Linked DNA regions of Homo sapiens: all the other regions are linked to region 6. Evidence: promoter capture Hi-C in 16 types of primary human blood cells and fetal thymus (Javierre and others, 2016). All regions are on one chromosome and are shown on one strand. The core of a region is centred on a gene start or on the middle of the fragment in contact, and the rest is flanking DNA. Distances in the headings are between cores, read along the strand shown.

Region 1 (2,700 bases), core at 144-2,643, 460 kb before region 6:
TTCTCCCTGGGTGTGTTTGTCTCTATGTTCAAATTGCCCCTTTTTATAAGAATACTCATTATAGTGGATTAGAATTCACCCTAATGAGCTCATTTTAAATTATCTCTGTAAAGACCTTATTTCCAAATAAGGTCACATGCTAAGGTACTAGGGGTTAGGGCTTCAACACATCGTTTGTGGGGACACAATTCAACCCATACAATATGTTTGTCATTCACAGAAGATTTCTGCACAGTAGTCAAGAAAATATAAACAGTGACACCTTCTAGGGTGTTAGACTATGAGATCAGGGGAATTTTATTTTTTGCTTTTCATCTTTGAATACTCTATAAATTTTAACCATGAGTACATAATATTATCTTGATTTTCAAATTACAACCAGTAATGCCTTCTTGGGGCTTTCTTCATTATGTTATTGGAAATAGGCAACAGAGCATTTAACAGAAAATGAATAGCTGTCCCAAACATTCCATGTCTGAAACAAGTACTTCAGGGGGAAGCCTAGATTCTGTTTCCAGTGAACAGTGTTTTACTAAGCCATTTAATCTAGGTTGTAAGCTATCTGAGCTGGTACTAGTTTAATCACATTTTGGACACAATGCCCAGTATGTTTTTGGCCATGAACTTGGGCAAAAGGCAATGTCTGTGACCCATTTATGAGTCACCAGATCTTATTGGCTAATGCCAAACAATATCTGTTCTGTTCTTAAATAGTGGATTAATGTGGAATTTGCTGTCTCTGCTAGCATCCCCCTAAAAGGACTGCAAACATGAAGCTAAGCGTGACGATCAGAGGCGCAGGCTCATTCCTGCTGCACGTGCACTTGGCAGTTTCCTCTAAGTGCTTCTGCAGTGCCATGCCTCCAAGGCCACAAGTGTGCATCCCACAGGGCCCAGCCAAAGAACTTCAGTATGCGCCCTTTATCAGTCCCTTCAAGGCCAATGCCACACAAAATTTATTTCAACTATCTCTCCATTCAGTTCTCACGTCTATAGAGAGGAAAGTCAGCTAATGGAAACCTTTAATTTCAGTGTCAGTATGAGATTGTGTTGAAAGAGGAGTTTTAATGTATAAGTAGAGAGGGGCTATTTAATTAATCAATCAACAACTTTTACTTTCTTTAAGCTTTTGCTGAGTAGCTGGCATTGGGGCACCACGTGAGTGCAGTGATTAGTGACAGGGGCATCAGAATCAGAAAGACTTGAGTCTGAGTATTGACTCTGTTAAATACTTAAAGTTGAACCACATGATACTTCTAGCATTAAATCATCCTGAAATATAATTCACTCAAGGCAATTAGAGAGCACATTCTTTCGTAGGATAGCAAAACTAGATTACTATTTTATAAGAAATGAATTCAATGTCATGTTAATAGGAAGAAAACTAATTTCTGAAAGATGAGAAAAGTTTTCCTGAATTAAAGTTGTTGCTTTATTTTTTTCCTGCCCAATACCTTTGAATGTCTACTCAATGATGTGGTCAGGGGCCAGGCTCTTTCTATCTTCTTGCCCCACCATCCTATCACATGACTTTTTCTTCACGGTGGCTGGAGATCTATTGCACCTTTAATTATCACACTTGCTTTTCAAGCAAGAGGAAGGGAGGAGGGTCCAAACCCTTATACTTAATGAAAACTCCTCTCATCAGAAGTAAGCTTATATATCACTGGGCAGAGCTGTGGCATATCACCACTGCTGGCTAGGCTGCTTCTGAGAAAAATGAGTACTTCATCCTCTATCCCCTATGTTAGAGAAAAGCAAAGAAGGTATTTGAGAATCTGTGTTGAGTGAGCCAATCCTTGACCAAGGCAGGGATGGAGGAGAAGATATCAGTTATATAATGAGTTATTTATTTGCAAGTTATGTTTAGCTTCACATTAGGATGAGGAACTAAGATTTAGAGAGGTTACAATTGCCCCAAATTTTGAGATAGGATTAGAGCCTCGGTCATTGTGTCTCCAAAGTTTTTGCATGTAAGAACTTTGCTTGCTTGGAACAAGAATCTATAGTTTTCCTTTAAGCACCTTTGATAGGAGTAATGTTCTCTATTAAGATATAGAAGTAACAATCAAGTTTGCAGTTGGCAATATACCTCCTTGACTGGCTTTAGGACACGGTGGGAAGAACAATGATTATTCAAGGTAGAGGCCAGCTACCCTACCAGGCCATTTCAGCTGCTGCTCTCTCAATATGGTAGGCAAATATACGTCTATTTTATAGTCACTGATAAGGTGTCCAATTAGATTTAAGTAACAGTAATTGTCTCCATCTCTTGTATTAGTTGAAATTGACAAGCTAATATACCTTTTATAATCCATTTTTAAGCTATAAGCAGAAGGATGTTTGAACTATTTTCTCAAAAAGCAAAAATATACGGTTCTCAGAACTTCTCCAAAAAGGTGATCAACAGGGCACTTATCAACTATTATTGCTAAAGAGACTGATGACAGATGGAGTTAGAAGGGTTTGATTTGGTTTCCAGATACTGTAAACTGTGGATAATCTGATGCACAAAGAGTATGAAGTGTGGAATGTTAAATAAAAAGTAAACCACAAGTGCAAAAGAGTCTTATGTCATTCAGTGGCAAGGTCTTCTGCTTACTCCAATGGCTGGTTATTTAGAAGAAAGATTCATCTTCACAGTGTGTCACCTAATGATTAGGACTGTACCTTGTGGAATATAGAAATGTATCATTTCAA
Region 2 (2,700 bases), core at 180-2,679, 340 kb after region 6:
CATTTTAAATTAAATGTATTTGATGTTTCAGAAATCACTTTAGATTTCCAAGTCTGGTGAAACTAGGACAGCCTGCACACTCTTAACAACTTCTCCACTGAAACAACCAAAAAGCTATATAACATATTTAAATAGGCGCTTTCTAAATGTATTGTTAACCTAGTGAGAAAGTTTTTAAAAATCCATAAAGGTCAAAAATTAATAAAAGTCTCCTGGGAATCCAGAAAGGTGCACAAACACTCAGGCATGCTTTTGTCCTGGGGCATCTGCCAAACCCTGGAGACTGAGTTTTGCTGTGACAGCCTCTCAAGCTCAAGGCTAGGTCCCCCTAAAGAGGAATTTTTCCAGGAGATCCTTACAGAAAGCTGGTAACGTAAACAGTTGTACCTTCCATGAAAGTGAGATCCAGAAATAAACCTGCTCTCAGAGCAAACAGTAAATGATGTATTCATTTATTTTTAATCTTGGACCTGGCTAAATAAGTGAGGAGAGATTTCCTTCTGAGATGTACAGCCCTAACACAGCCTTCATCCAGGTTTGTAGCCTGAATTCATATGATGTGTGTGAATTTCAACAGCTCATGGCTAAGAATTATTTTAAATTGGTTCCAGGTTGATATTGGTCCTAAACACCTAGCAAAAGCAAATTCAGTCCTTTCTAGAGGAGCTCACTTTAAACATAGGCCTTGAACAATTCCACGGATAGTGTTCCAAGATATACAAATACATGATTTTTTAAAAAATCACAAAACCACATAAGGAAGTAAGACACTGTAAGCAATAGCCAGCAGAAATAAAACAAGTAGACAATAGACTCATATATACAAAGACCTTAGGTAAGACGATTAATAAGCATGCAATAAGTTATGTTTAAAATATTTAAAGAAGAGAGAGAATTGAAAATATGAGTAAGAATAAAAGATTATTAAAATAACGGTATATATTTGGAAGAAAAAAGAGTTTCTAGAAAAGAAAAACCTAGTATTTAAAAAAATAAAAATTCAATGGATCTAGAGAATCAATAATAAAACATATGATTTACAAATCAGAAAGATAGCAAGATATAAAATGAATATACAACAATCAATAGAGTATCCATCATATATACACAAACAATGGAAGAGTGAATCCCATTTACAATAGCAATTACAATAGAAATAGCCTTAAGAAAATTTTAAAATCTACATAAGGGAAATGTTAAAACACTTCCAAAAACTTAACTTGCGAACTTAAACAAATAGGTAGAGAATGACTCAATGTCATAAAAATGTCAGTACTCCATAAGTTAATTTTCAGATTTAATAAAGCCCCAATAAAAATGCCAAAAAGATTTGATTATCTTAAAATGAGATAATTTAATACTAAAATTTATATGAAAAAAATAAACATGCATGAATAGTCGGGAAAACACTGAAAAAAATAAAGAGCTATCGAGGGACAGGTGGAGGCAGAAATCTCTGTCATACTCAAATATATCAGAAAGCCATTATAATTACAAGATTATTGTACTAGTTCATGAATAGACAGATTACTTAGTGGAATAGACTAGAAGACACAAGTATATATGGAAATATAATGCATGATAAAGTTGACATCTCTAATTACTGGGACCAAGATAGACTTTTAGTAAATGATGTTAGGTTATGACAATTGAAAAGCCATATAGATGATAATATTGTATCCTCACAGTCTACACAAGAAAGAAAACCCCAATGGATTAGAAAACTCATTATAAAACTGAAGCCATGCAAGTATTAGAAGAAAACATAGATAAATACCTTTGAAATCTGGTGATGAAAGACTTTCAAAATATGTCTAAAAATCTAGAGACAATAAAAGAAAAGATTCATGAACTCAACTCTATAAAAATTTTTAAAATTTTTAAAGAACTTTTGAATGACACAAAACTCTGTAAACAAAAACATAGACAAATGATGAACTGGGAGAAAATATTTTCAACACACATTGCAGATAAAGAACTAATATCATTAATATGTAAATAACTTGTAAACATCAAGATTAAAGAAGGACCAAAACCTTATAGATAAATGGGCAAAATATATGATGTAGACAATACACCCCTAAAAAGATACAAAATGTCCTTACACCTATGAAGAGATCTTCTATCTCATTCATAATTAAATCCAAATGAAAAAGAGTAAAACATTTCACATCTATCCAAGTGATCAAAATTAGTATGTACGATGATATACTCTGTAGGGTAATGAGCACTCATATATTGGTGATGGGTGTGCAAAATGATGCAGTCTCCGTGGATTGAAATTTGGCAACATCTAACAAAACTCGATACACATTTTACGCTTTGACCCAGCAACCCGACTTCTGGGAATTTGCCCTGAAGTTTACTTTCAACAATACGAAAATAAATACATAAAATGTTATTTATTAAGACATTATTTGTAATTGCCAAAATACTGGAAACAACTCAAAAATTCCTATATAGAAAATTGATTGCATGAATGATAGATCCTTGCAATAGAATACTGTGCATCTTTTTTTAAAAACAATAAGGAAAACCTATATGAACTGATATAAAATGATTTCCACGATTGATTGATTGACTGATTGATTTTGAGACAGAGTCTCACTCTGTCACCCAGGCTGGAGTGCAGTGGCACGATCTCAGCTCACTGCAACCTCTGCCTCCCAAGTTCAAGCCATTCTCTTGCTTCAGCCTCTT
Region 3 (2,700 bases), core at 49-2,548, 400 kb before region 6:
AAATTCATTTTCTATCTCTTTGCTTCAGTTTCCTCATCTTTAAAGTGAGAAATTTTAATACTTGCCTCGAGATCTTAACACACAAAATGTTAATACTTTACAAACTGTAAAAGTTTCAAATCAAAACAAAGATTTGTAAATACTGTATAATCAATCCTTTTGGAGGATGTTTATAAATAATAGTAAAGTGCCAGGCACTTGTACTAGTGTCTCAGCTCGCACTACTGTAATAAAATGCCTCAGACTGGGTGGCTTAAATAATAGACATTTATTTCTAATCTGGAGTCTGCAAAGCTCAACATCAAGGTGGCAACCAATTTGACTCCTGGTTAGGGATCTCCTCCTGGCTTATAAAAGGCCAGCTTCTTTCTGTGTCTTCATATGGTGAAGAAAGCGAGAGAGCAGGGGTCTCTCTTTGTCTTCGAATGAGGACATTAATCCTATCCCCACCCTCACCACCTCATCTAAACTTAATTACCTCTCAAGGACATCACTTCCAAATACTATCACACTGGGGTTTAGGGCTTCAACATATAAATTTGGGGGGCACACTAGGATCATTTATGCCTTCCTGAATCCTCCCAGGTAGGCAATATTATTTTCATAAAACCAGCAGTAACTGAGATGTACCAAGGGAAAGTGTTTGCCCAAATTCCTAACGCTAGGAGACAGAGGATCTGGGAATCAAGTCATGTCTGTTCACTGTTGACTCTGAAGGCTCTAGTGGGAAAGTCATACATATATGACTTCTACAAAACAGTCCTGACTACCACTGAGCAGGAGGGAATAAATGGCTATGAAACTCTTGGAGTAAACTAACCCAACTGGTTCATAAAATTTCATGCACTTACAATGATGTACATCCCCTGCCCCCAGCAATAGAAATTGTCTCCCAAGGCCAAATGCCTTATCTCTTGATATAAATTCCAGAACCATCAAAAGCAATAATGGAAATCATATCTCCAGGTCAATCAGTCTACAAATTTGACAGCTTTATCAAGACATGTTTGGTCTCTACTATCAAAAAGAATTTTTTGTCTAGGGCCAGGACATTTTAGCATGATAAACTCAGATAAATAAAGTTTACCTGAGGCTCCTACAAAGAATTTCAGGAATTGACCCTATTTTCAGGCCTAGACACTTGTATTTTTTTTCTATCAAAAGCAAAAAAATGAAAACAAAAGCCTGAAACACTAACAAAATTTCAAATTCAATAATTTCTTTAGAATATTAAACATCCAAGAAGAATATGAGGACCCAAAACTTTCTGGGGTTTTCTCCTTTTTTTTTAAGGTAAATCAGTGGTCCTACGTGCAAAAGCTGAAATCAACCTCTCAAGCACCTTTGACTTTTAAGTGAGTAGGACATTTTGTTCAGTACTTGCCTGACAAATTCGTGGCCATACTCTTGTTCCCAAGTAATAATCTAAATCCTAACCTGGGGCCACCTTGAAATGTTAGTTCCATTACGTCTTAGGTAGCAGAGAGAGGTTAAGGGAGACAAATCAACCCCTCAAATGTGATTTTCTGGCCACTGGCATTTTCCCGGAGCCTGAAACAAGGTCATCAAGTTAGGAACACACCAACTGAAAAGAGCAAAAAAGCAAACAAAGACTGAAGCAAAGGGCCAAGGCCACAGAGCAATAGTTGAACTCGGTTCCAAATAACTGTTCAGAACCAGTGTTAACGACACTCTTTCCCAATTCTGAGAGTGACTTTGATTTAATTCATTAGAATAATTCAATTATGCCATTTCTATTTTTCAGATTTTTTTTCTTTGCTTTGTGTAGTCCATCTGCCAAACTGCAGAGAGCCTCATTCAGGCTCACTGAACATATGCAGCTCACTTGGCCCCCACATATGCAGCATGTGTGTCATACTTATCATGTCACATAGTCCCAAGTTGGATTTATACATGTTCATTACTGTGTTGTGAAATGTGTAAAGACATTTATATTACTTCTTACTCATAGTGAACCCTGTATATGTTCTATCTTTTTCTGTTTAGCCTTAAAACAACCTTGCAAAGTAGCTGAAAAAGATACCATCACTCCCATTTTACAGATAAAAAACTATTAATAAGATTCAAGAGATTCAATGACTTGCATGATAAAGGCTAGTAGGTTCAGTGAGGTGTTACAGGAAGAAGATGGACTCTGTAGCTGAGTGGACCTTGTACTTACCACCTACTTTTCCTTCCTCTCTTTTTCCATTCCTCTATTCTCCACTTTTCCCCAGCAATCAATAACTACCAACTGTTTGAATTAAGCCAGGCAGACATTAGGTTCTGGCAAATCTGTGGTACTACTTCTTTTCCAATAATCCAAAAACAATAATCCCAAACGTGACCTGTGTCAAACTTGAAATTTTAGCTCCATTTCATCTTACCCAAAACCTGATCTTATCCTACATCTTAGCTACTACAGGTATTTTGCTGGCTATTGTGAATAAATGTGTATGCTGTTCAATAGTGCGGTACACATAATTTGTACCATAACTGTGACTGTCATAATCACTTAAGTATTCTTTGTCTCTAAGTAACCTTGAGAACAATGATTTAAGGAAACAATGTTTGGGGTAAATGAAAAGCTGAGCAGAGTTCCATGTATGAGAATGACTCCCGGGGAGCCTGTAAAAGGGAAGTGACAGCAGTTTCACCCCCTTGGTTCCAGCAAGCCACCATTTTTTTCAACTCCCTTAC
Region 4 (2,700 bases), core at 49-2,548, 460 kb after region 6:
ATGTGGCTCAGATTCCCCTGCAACAGAACAGGGGAATGTTCAGTTATGTTATGTTCAGTCCTTAGGCCTCAATTTTTCCATCTGTGGAAGAGAAATTACGATACTGTATTCTTTTATCCAAAGCAAGTGAAAGTAATAAATATGTAGAAACCAATCTCTCCCTGAAAGACATGGTCTCCATAATGCTAATATAGCATTAATAATATTGTTCTGCTGTCAGTAAAACTCCAAAGGACCCCCACAATGAAAACTAGAATTTTTTTTTTTTTTTTTTTTTTTTTTAGAGATGGAATCTCACACTGTCGACTGGGCTAGAGTGCAGTGGCATGATCTTGGCTCACTGCAACATCTGCCTCCCAGGTCAAGTGATTCTCCTGCCTCAGCCTCCTGAGTAGCTGGGATTACAGGCGCCCGCCACCACTCCCAGCTAATTTTTTGTATTTTTAGTAGAACGAGGTTTCACCATGTTGGCCAGGCTGGTCTCAAACTCCTGACCTTGTGATTCGCCTGCCTTGGCTTCCCAAAGTGCTGGGATTACAGGCATGAGCCATCACGCCCAGCCTGAAGACTAGGAATTTAAGAGAATTGCCAAAATCAAGTCCAGTCTAAATAATAATAGCCAACTACATTTTTTTTTTTTTTTTGAGATAGGGTCTTGCTCTGTTGCTTGGAGTGCAGTGGCACAATCACTGCTCTCTGCAGCTTTGACTTTTCCAGGCTCAAGTGATCCTCTCATCTCAGCTTCCTTAGTAGTTGGAACTACAGGTGTGCACCACCACACCTGGCTAATTATTTTGATATTTTGTAGAGATGGAGTTTCACTGTGTTGCCCAGGCTTGTCTTGAATTCCTGGCCTCAAACGATTGCCTGCCTCGGCCTCCCAAAGTGCTGGGAATACAGGCGTGAGCCACTGTGCCCATCCTACATTTTTGACTTCTGGAAATATTAAAAAATCAAAGGTAAAGTAAAAACGGAGTGGAAAGAAAAAGTAGAAAATTTAAGCTGCAAATTGACCTGAATAGACTCCCCCTAAAATATAATTGGTAGTGTAGAATTTGGTGTTAATTCAGTTTGGAAGCCATACATTAACAGTTTGATGGACATTGTTTCGATTCTTTAGGAGAACCTGTTAAACAAGCACAGGAATTGTTTCTCATGGAGGCCATAGAACAGTTGTTTGGAACTTGGATTCTGGAGTCAGACACTATAGTTCTATTTTCCTCATGCCATTTACTGTGTTTTCTTTGGGTGACTTCCTAATACCTTTGGGCTTTAGCTTCCTCATCAAAAACTGAGAGAGAAAGAAAATAGGATTGTGAAATCATGGTGCTGGGGAAGGGAGAACATTTGTTGTTACCTATGTGGCTGGTACCCACTTTATATGGATGTCCAAACTGGCACTGTAAAAATACAGATATCAGAAATCTCAGACATAGAGGAACAAAGATCACAGAGATAAGGGACTGAAAAATGAAATGCGGCTGGGCACAGTGGCTCACACCTGTAATCCCAGCACTTTGGAAGGCCGAGGCGGGTGGATCACCTGAGGTCAGGAGTTCGAGACCAGCCTGGCCAAGATGGTGAAACCCTGTCTCTGTTAAAAATACAAAAATTAGCAGGCTGTGGTGGCACATGCCTGTAATCCCAGCTGCTTGGGAGGCTGAGGCAGGAGAGTTGCTTGAACACAGGAGGCGGAGGTTGCAGTGAGCCGAGATTGTACCATTGCACTCCAGCCTGGGCAACAAGAACAAAACTCCATCTCCAAAAAAAAAACACAAAGAGAGAAAAGAAAAGAAAAGAAAAGAAAAGAAAAGAAAAGAAAAGAAAAGAAAAGAAAAGAAAAAAGAAAAATGAAATGCACACAGGTCAGGACACCATGCTGCCCTCTGCTGGTTTCAAAACGGCCTAGAGCTGTGTTCTCCAAGATGGCAGCCACTAGCCACGTGAGCCTTGAAATGTGAGTCTGATTAAAATGAAAAAACACACTGGATTTTGAAGACTTAGTATAACAAAATGTAAAGTAGCTAATTTGTATTTTTCATATAGATTGCATTTTTAAATGATAATATTTTGGAGATGGCGAGTTAAAGTATATTATGAAGATTAATTTAACCCATTCCTCCTTTTTTTTTTTTTGCTATTTCTACTAGAAAATTTAAAATCACATATGTAGATTGTCTTGGTGGCTCCTAGCATATTTTCATTGGGTAGCCCTGGTCTGGTGGCTGATTTCCCACAAGAACAGAACAGCCAACCAACAAACAAGTTCACCCCTTTCATTGGGTACAGTACTTTGAAAGCCATTTGCCATAGAAGATGATCCTTGTCCTGAACAAGCAAATGATCAAGAGTTTTTCCAGTTTTTCTCACACTATCTCCCCCATCCCATTTCCCTTATTTTGATGAGGAAGCACATTTTGTTCCCACTTAAGAGGAATCCCCCATTGAGGTTATGATTTCAGCACCAAGAAGGATTTCAGAGTCACAGGAGTGAGCCAGTGGGGCAAAACCAACACCCACCCCTTCCCCAGTGGCCTGGAGGCTTTGCCAACTGCCAATATGACCAAAACCTGGGACAGCTTGGGGAGTGGCTAAAATAAAATTTAAAGAATATGAACCCTGATACGCAGGCCTTCCTTGGATGGAAGCGGGGGTGGGGTGAGCTCTTTGTTGGGTTAAGTGTCATCACTCAGAGGAGAA
Region 5 (2,700 bases), core at 140-2,639, 360 kb after region 6:
AGGGAGGCCTTTACTCTGAGACCTTGACTACTGCTCTGAGGAATCACAACAGAGATAATGATGTTCCCAGAAGAAATAGTTCAAGCGACTACCAAAAACACTGCTCCTGAACCTCTTTCTGCAAGGCAGTGGGAGTCGGTGTGCCTGCAGGTCTGAGGCTCTGGGATAACTCTCTCCACTGGCCTAGGCAAGAATTCAAGAGACTTGGTAAAGGAGTCCCGTGAGTGGACAAGAGATTTTGATGTTTGTTTGTTAGTTAGTTAGTTACTTAGTTAGTTAGATTTATGACTGCTAACTCGGCCACACCTCCTGAATTCAAACTCCATCTCTGCCACTTACAGGGTGACTTTAGGAAAGTTCCTTAACCTATCTGTGCCTTGGCATTCTCATCTGTATAATGAGGATAGCAACACTACCTGCCTTAGAGGGTTGTTGCAAGAATTAAATGAGACACAACAAGATATTCCATGTAAAGTATATGGTGTCTGACACATAGGAAGGTCAATAAATGTTACCCGTTATTATTATTAGCTTAATGGTATTAGCCTCCTTAAAGAGACAAAGCTTACATAAACTCTAGAAAGCAACATATCTTCCTATCTAGATAGAAGTAATCAACACAAAATTATACTTCATTAAAATGTATGGGCACAGATTCTAAACCCTAGCCTACTAAATAGCCAAGCCTGTATGTAAATAATATGATTCCCTCTACCTTTATTTCTAGGAAGAATTATCAATGTTCTTTGGTAAATTATCTAATCAAGACTGTACTTACAAATAAGGTGGCAAATTATTAGTAAAACAGCATTCAGGCCAGGCACTGTGGCTCACACCTATAATCCCAACACTTTGGGAGGCCAAGGCAAGCAGATCACTTGAGGCCAGGAGTTCCAGATCAGCCTGGCCAACATGGCAAAACTCATCTCTACTAAAACTACAAAAATTAGGCGGGTGTGGTGGCGCACACCTATAGTCCCAGCTATTTGGGAGGGTGAGGTAGAAGAATCCCTTGAGCTCGGGAGGTAGAGGTTGCAGCGAACTGCAATCACACCACTGCACTCCAGACTGGGTGGCAGAGTGAGAATTTGTCTCAAAACAAAACAAAACAAAACAAAACAAAACAAAAAAACAGGCCAGTTGTGGTGGCTGATGCCTGTAATCCCAGCACTTTGGGAGGCTGAGGTGGGTGGATCATCTGAAGTCAGGAGTTCAAGACTAGGCTGGCCAACATGGTGAAACCTCCTCTCTACTAAAAATACAAAAATTTGCTGGGTGTGGTGGTGCATGCCTGTGATCCCAGCTACTCGGGAGGCTGAGGCAGGAGAATTGCTTAAACCTGGGAGGCAGAGGTTGCAGTGAGCCAAGATCGTGCCATTGCACTCCAGCCTGGGCGACAAGGGCGAAACTCTGCCTCAAACAAACAAACAAACAAAACAAAAAGCAGTACTCTATGGACGAATTGTGACTTTTAGAAGATGCAGAGGCACAGCTTCTGCCAGCTTCTGATCCTTTCGATCTGGGATTACAAAGGTGTGAGTTAAGGGGATCATCGGGCCTGCAGAAGTGTTTGTTTCATTAGGGCAGTGGTTTGGTTCTATTTTGTTTTAACAAAAAACACTGTTGTGAATTTGAATGCTTTAGGAGGAGCACGCTGTCTGCAGCTAACCACAGTCCCTCTACTCACCATCGCCTTATCCCCTGCCTCTGCACACATTTCCATACCCACATGCCAACATGGCATTTGAGTTTACCACCTCTTAAAAAAAAAAAAAAAAAAAAACAGAAAATAGCAACAAAAAAAATTTCAGGACCACTGGGATTCTTGTAACCAGTCTTCTCATTGCAGAAGGACTATTGTTCATACACAGAATCCACATACAACAGCGATCCACCAGTTCCCAAATCTGCCCTTCCTTCCCTCTTTCTCTTCTTCACACTTCCCTTTCAGCTCTCCAACCAGTTTGCAGAGTTGGATTCAGCAGAAGAGGGGCATTCCTATCAATCTTTTCAGTGTTTCTCACCATTAAATAGGTAAGACAGATTACTTGCTTTTTTTCACAGTTCTTAAAAGATGTGACTCTTGGCTGGGGCTTTTCCTGAGTAAACAACATGGCAACAGGGAGATCCAAGCCTTCAGGTATCTTCTGACTTACTGGGCAGCTGTCGGCACAAAGACAACCCCAAGCTGCAGGCTGGATGGGAGAAGCTTCCAGATTTTAGATCTCCTTTTTTTTTTTTGCTTCAATATTTTTCATATAGAGCCAAAGCTCTTGGTGACACCATTTTTAATTCTTGTATTCATGTATCATAGGTCATGGCAAGTTCTCTGGAACTGAATTGTTAAATTTGCTGAGAATTTTAACATTCCTTCTATCTTTATAAACCTACATTCAACTGTATATTCCCTGTTTAATTATTGCATTGTCTCAAAGATTGTTGGGTTTTGCTTTTTTTTGTTTTTGTTTTTTTGCTCTGCAACCAGAAGGAGTGAGGTAGGGACGCAGGTAGAAGAACACTGTTCTAAGTTCCAGTAATGTGTCTTCGTTATTGTATCTAAGTTATCTTAATGTATCTAAGTTAACATATCTAAGCTATCAGCTGTGACACTTTGGTGGTATTCTCCATGACAGTTTCACAAAGTCTCATTTCCTTCACATGGAAATAGAGCCAACTAATAATTTTGAATCCATCATCTTG
Region 6 (2,700 bases), core at 177-2,676:
TAATTAAGTTAATTTCCAGTACAAATGCTGTGCCAGAGAAAAGAGGAGTTTATTATACTTACCAGGGAAAGTACTATCTTCTGGATTAATTGAAGCACTAATGCTTCTTTTCAAGAGGTGATAAACATTTGCTGCTGTGAAGTCTGAAAAAGAAAAGATAGACTAACTCAAAGGGCTCTAGATTTACATAATCTAACTTAGTCCAATTTCACCATCAGAGACTCTCAAGACCAGTAGGTTGTACATAAAAGTACTAAACGCTGCTCAAGATCTGTTCAAGTTTTGATACAGAAAATCTAAAGCAATCAGAGAAAATAGAAAAGGCTCCCGATCTGTACATGCCAGTCAGTTAGCACGAATGCAAAATTCCCCTCAAAAGAATAATTTTAAAGAGAAGGGAAATTCTGTGACAATACCTTATACACAACCACATACATTTACTCCTCAAAATGCCTGTTTGATCGAAACAAATGAACACATAAAATGCAATATTGAATCTAGACGGGTGCACCAAAAAGCAGTGCAATCGCAAACAATTAAAATCATTTAAAATTCATCATTTGTTTTTAAAACTTAGGTTATATGTGGGATGTCTCCTCCCATTAGATGTAAATTGTAGGACAGCAAGATCTTTGTCCATCTTGCTCCTTTCCGTATTATTTGCATGTGAAACACAGGAGCAGAAATAATAAATGCATATATTTCCAAAAAGCAGGAAATTCCATTACTAAGGCATAGAAAATTTATTAAGTTAAACATTTACTATGCCAAGAACTTCTAAGGGCTGGAATCTTGCATCCACAAATTTGTCCCTGTTTTTCCATGAAGATGCTATTTTTGCAGCCCTCATTAACTCTATCCCAGATAGAGTCCCAGCTTCGTGGGACAACTACATATTGATCCCTCTTCAGCAGAACTTGATCACAAAACTCAAACTTCTTCCCCTCTCCACAAGCCGTTCCCGCTCTTTCTCATCCCAGCGCTTACCCGGCTGATTCTCAGTACCCTCACCCGACGACACCTCTGGCCCATGTTCTGCCTCCCTACTGGCCGCCGACGGGAATTTTCCTTCCCCCCAGATCACCAGCAGCAGGTACCGATCCATCTCCTCAGAGATCACCCCCCAACTTTAGGTCTCGGCTTCCACATCCAAACAGACGCGCGCTATGACGCATTTCCGGTTCCCTTCGTTTAGGTCGGCTGGAAATTATGTCCTCCGTCGGTTTTCCGCAGTTTTTCCACCAAGCGAGATATTTTTGGGAGTTATTCCCTAAATAACTGCATTATATGCTCCTTTCATGACGAAATTGCTGCCGTGGAGAAGACTGGAGGAAACTCGAGGAAGAGGGAGAAGCCGACAAGTGCTCGACGGGCTAGGAACTGTCCTGCTTGGGTGTTAGCGTTTCCCGCCGGGCCAGTAAGGCTGAGTGACCCGGCGTGGCTACTAGGAGAAGGACGTACGGTCCTGCTAGTAGAGGAATATGTCGAGTTTCTCTAGGGCGCCCCAGGTGAGCTCGGACTCTTATGGCTTGATGGGGTTCATTATACTGGCAGAAGGAGAGCGTTGGTTCCGGCAGATTAAGTAGTGAAGCTGGGGCGGCAGGGAAGCCGAGACCCTCGGCCAAGAGGTGACTTGGGAAAGCACAAGAGGGTCGTCAGTCTGGCAAGCACTTAATGTCGTTCGTCTGTTACTCGTCCCCTCTTCTTTTCAATCTGCCCTTTTCATGTCTTTCTTGGGGGGGCGGGGGGAAGAGGATTAGAGCAGATCGGAGAGGTAATAAGGTGGATCACATAGGGCATTGTAGGCCCTTGCAATAATTTGTTTTTTGACTGAGTAAAATGGGGACCTTTTGGAGGGTTTTGATCCACGGAGTAACAGGATCTGACCTGGTGTCAAAAGGAGCACTCTGGCTGCTGGGTCGAGAATAGACTGTTCAGAAATAGGGGTTAGTAGAGGACAGAAGCAAAGAATATGTTTGGAGGGTGTTACAGTAATCCAGGCGAGACGTGATGGTGCAGAGGCCACGCTAGAAATACTATGGAGTGTGTTGAAAGTGGTCAGGTTTTGTTTGAAGGTGGAGCCAGTAGGACTTCCTGAATATTGAGTATAGGCCAACAGCAAAAGAAGAAACAAGGATTACCCCAAGGTTTTTTGGTTTGTCCAACTGGAGGGTGTGTCATCAACTGAGATAGGGAAGGCTGAGATTGAACCAGGTTTCAGGTGGAAGAATAGGAGTTAGTTTGGGTTATATCGGTCTAAGATGACTCTCAACTCAGTGCCGCTCCAAGTATGGTTCCTTCCTTGGGCTGTTTGTTGCCTGTCTGTGATGAGATAAATACAGGAAGTAAAATAAAAATTTTAAAACCTTTTTCAGCAATCTGACATCGCCCAGCATTTGTATTTTTTTCATTAAAAATTTTTTTTTTCTAAGTATCAAACTATTAGTCTACAATGGATGGGGACAAAAACTGGCCTTTTTCTTATATGTAGACTAGTTTGAGGTTGTGATAAGTAAATTTAAAATAAGACCAGCTAGCCTCGTTCTATTTTTCCAGCATTGTTTAGCCTCTTGTGTATATGCATAGAGAAAGCATCTGGTGGAGATCTTTCTGGCCTAGAATTTTCTAAGAATTTGAATACATTGATGACGACTGTAAAAACAATGCTCTATTCCTGAGGCAACCTAAAGATACCTATTT
Region 7 (2,700 bases), core at 128-2,627, 440 kb before region 6:
ATGTCCTGAATGGTAACGCCTAGGTTTTCTTCTAGGGTTTTTATAGTTTTAGGTCTAACGTTTAAGTCTTTAATCCATCTTGAATTAATTTTTGTATAAGGTGTAAGGAAGGGATCCAGTTTCAGCTGTCCTAAATAAAATACTGGCAAACCGAATCCAGCAGCACATCAAAAAGTTTATCCACCATGATCAAGTGGGCTTCATCCCTGGGATGCAAGGCTGGTTCCATATATGCAAATCAATAAATGTAATCCAGCATATAAACAGAACTAAAGACAAAAACCACATGATTATCTCAATAGATGCAGAAAAGGCCTTTGACAAAATTCAACAATGGTTCATGCTAAAAACTTTCAATAAATTGGGTATTGATGGGACATATCTCAAAATAGTAAGAGCTATCTATGACAAACCCACAGCCAATATCATACTGAATGGGCAAAAACTGGAAGCATTCCCTTTGAAAACTGGCACAAGACAGGGATGCCCTCTCTCACCACTCCTATTCAACATAGTGTTGGAACTTCTGGCCAGGGCAATTAGGCAGGAGAAGGAAATAAAGGGTATTCAATTAGGAAAAGAGGAAGTCAAACTGTCCCTGTTTGCAGATGACATGATAGTATATCTAGAAAACCCCATTGTCTCAGCCCAAAATCTCCTTAAGCTGATAAGCAACTTCAGCAAAGTCTCAGGATACAAAATAAATGTACAAAAATCACAAGCATTCTTATACACCAATAACAGACAAACAGAGAGCCAAATCATGAGTGAACTCCCATTCACAATTGCTTCAAAGAGAATAAAATACCTAGGAATCCAACTTACAAGGGACGTGAAGGACCTCTTCAAGGAGAACTACAAACCACTGCTCAAGGAAATAAAAGAGGATACAAACAAATGGAAGAACATTCCATGCTCATGGGTAGGAAGAATCAATATCGTGAAAATGGCCATACTGCCCAAGGTAATTTATAGATTCAATGCCATCCCCATCAAGCTACCAATGACTTTCTTCACAGAATTGGAAAAAACTACTTTCAAGTTCATATGGAACCAAAAAAGAGCCTGCATCGCCAAGTCAATCCTAAGCCAAAAGAACAAAGCTGGAGGCATCACGCTACCTGACTTCAAACTATACTACAAGGCTACAGTAACCAAAATAGCATGGTACTGGTACCAAAACAGAGATATAGATCAATGGAACATAACAGAGCCCTCAGAAATAACGCCGCATATCTACAACTATCTGATCTTTGACAAACCTGACAAAAACAAGCAATGGGGAAAGGATTCCCTATTTAATAAATGGTGCTGGGAAAACTGGCTAGCCATAATTCTCTTTCTTGGTCTGCCTGACTCCGTCTTCTTGCAGGCAAGATACTTCCACCTGCTGGGAATGATGGCCACTGGCAAGGTCAGCTCTACAAATTTTAACTTGAGATTCAAAGGGAAGAGAGAATCTTTCCCTCCAACTGCAGCAGAAAATTTTGTCCCAGAGTGGGCTTTAACTGGCCTAGCTCAGTCACCTGCTTTTCAATGCGTGGATTTAGGTAGGGGAGCAGACACTATGATTGACAGCTCCATCAGAACTACAAGTAGTGGGTTAGGATTTCCTCCAGAAACCAGAAACAGGGCTACAAAATATGCTGAGCAGAGAAAAATAGCTGTCATAGTCCATTCTGCTTGTTGGCTATGAAAATGATATTAAACATTCAAGAAATGGAATGCATTTTTCATGCACAACTAAAATTTCAGCCACCTGATACATGAAGTATACACCTCCAGCCTAAGAGTCAACATGAAAATTCAGGACATTTTCCTTCCTCTCTTTAAGTCAAAAATATAGAACAGTAGATAGACAGTAAAAGATATTATCTCTCTGCCCAATACCTCCTGTTATTCATGAATATTCAATGGAAAATGCCAGATTTGTTGTTAATTTGGTTACTTATGCAAAAATTAATCACTAAGATATCTCTCTTCCCACCCAGAAAATAATAGAGCTAAATATTGGGTTTGGAAAAGGGCTATAAACACTGTCTATTCCATCTCTTTCATTTTGTGCATTGTGATATTGAAGACCAGAGAAGTAATATAATCTAGCTAAAGTTACACAGCTTCCTATTGAATAAATCTTGGGTTAAAACTCAAATTTCCTTCCAGGTAGTATAGTACTTTTTTCATTGTATACCATTATCCAAATTGTGTACATATTACATCCTAAGTTTTTTTTTAATGTAGAAGCAAATAGACGATTGTAAACTAAAAAGGGATATTTTCAGGTCTCATAATCTTCCAATTTTTATGCAACAACTCAAAAATCCTCCTCCATTCATATTTTCCAGTGCATAGTTCTATGATACCCAGAAAAAAAAATGGTGACTTCTATGAAGTTTCAAACTGAGTGGAAATGCTTGCAAAATAATTACTGATAAAGTCAGAAGGATGTGAATCATGAGGGCTGCCTTTCCAATTTGGCTTCTGAATTTTTTTCAAAAACATCTATCTCCTGCTGTGTTTTTATGCAATTATACACAGTATGATTCAATAGGGAAAAAGAGTCCCTAAATACCATGAACAGCCAAAATAAAGTTCTAATCAACTCACTTGAGTTTTTAATTGTTTCAAAATACATCCTAGGTACTAACATGACAATCCTTAACTTTTCTTATTTTAGTAGAAATTAGTTCTGTTGTTCTC

The links. The method cuts DNA at HindIII sites, captures the fragments that hold promoters and counts their contacts. A CHiCAGO score of 5 or more calls a contact.
Region 1: a contact is called between a fragment that was not itself captured here and the fragment with the promoter of MRPL13 in region 6, in 9 of 17 cell types (naive CD8 T cells, naive CD4 T cells, total B cells and 6 more). The highest score is 10.8, in naive CD8 T cells.
Region 2: a fragment that was not itself captured here is called in contact with the fragment with the promoter of MRPL13 in region 6 in 1 of 17 cell types (megakaryocytes); the score reaches 5.1 in megakaryocytes.
Region 3: a fragment that was not itself captured here is called in contact with the fragment with the promoter of MRPL13 in region 6 in 7 of 17 cell types (naive CD8 T cells, non-activated CD4 T cells, total CD8 T cells and 4 more); the score reaches 8.8 in naive CD8 T cells.
Region 4: a contact is called between a fragment that was not itself captured here and the fragment with the promoter of MRPL13 in region 6, in 3 of 17 cell types (naive CD8 T cells, naive CD4 T cells and total CD4 T cells). The highest score is 6.5, in naive CD8 T cells.
Region 5: a fragment that was not itself captured here is called in contact with the fragment with the promoter of MRPL13 in region 6 in 1 of 17 cell types (erythroblasts); the score reaches 5.0 in erythroblasts.
Region 7: a fragment that was not itself captured here is called in contact with the fragment with the promoter of MRPL13 in region 6 in 10 of 17 cell types (naive CD8 T cells, activated CD4 T cells, total CD8 T cells and 7 more); the score reaches 15.4 in naive CD8 T cells.

Annotation. Positions count from the first base shown.
Region 1 is chr8:120,904,954-120,907,653 of GRCh38, reverse strand. No RefSeq gene overlaps it. Among named protein-coding and RNA genes, the nearest start is that of SNTB1, 94 kb to the right of the region's middle. The HindIII fragment of the contact is 529 bases long and covers 1,129-1,657 here.
Region 2 is chr8:120,104,705-120,107,404 of GRCh38, reverse strand. It overlaps LOC105375730 (a long non-coding RNA gene), which reads right to left. Exons shown (of 3, transcript XR_928593.4): 2 at 1,778-1,822. Among named protein-coding and RNA genes, the nearest start is that of COL14A1, 19 kb to the left of the region's middle. The HindIII fragment of the contact is 3,772 bases long and covers 1-2,700 here.
Region 3 is chr8:120,845,274-120,847,973 of GRCh38, reverse strand. No RefSeq gene overlaps it. Among named protein-coding and RNA genes, the nearest start is that of SNTB1, 35 kb to the right of the region's middle. RefSeq lists a silencer at 2,051-2,345. The HindIII fragment of the contact is 2,976 bases long and covers 1-2,700 here.
Region 4 is chr8:119,979,597-119,982,296 of GRCh38, reverse strand. The region is part of intron 4 of DEPTOR (DEP domain containing MTOR interacting protein); the gene reads right to left. Among named protein-coding and RNA genes, the nearest start is that of DEPTOR, 110 kb to the right of the region's middle. The HindIII fragment of the contact is 2,838 bases long and covers 1-2,700 here.
Region 5 is chr8:120,079,912-120,082,611 of GRCh38, reverse strand. The region is part of intron 1 of LOC105375730 (a long non-coding RNA gene); the gene reads right to left. Among named protein-coding and RNA genes, the nearest start is that of COL14A1, 44 kb to the left of the region's middle. RefSeq lists a silencer at 1-75. The HindIII fragment of the contact is 1,645 bases long and covers 567-2,211 here.
Region 6 is chr8:120,443,876-120,446,575 of GRCh38, reverse strand. It overlaps MRPL13 (mitochondrial ribosomal protein L13), which reads left to right and starts at 1,426. Exons shown (of 7, transcript NM_014078.6): 1 at 1,426-1,508. The coding sequence starts at 1,482. It overlaps MTBP (MDM2 binding protein), which reads right to left and starts at 1,157. Exons shown (of 22, transcript NM_022045.5): 1 at 988-1,157; 2 at 63-143. The coding sequence starts at 1,105. RefSeq lists an enhancer at 1,519-1,698. The HindIII fragment of the contact is 4,989 bases long and covers 1-2,700 here.
Region 7 is chr8:120,884,694-120,887,393 of GRCh38, reverse strand. No RefSeq gene overlaps it. Among named protein-coding and RNA genes, the nearest start is that of SNTB1, 74 kb to the right of the region's middle. The HindIII fragment of the contact is 5,620 bases long and covers 1-2,700 here.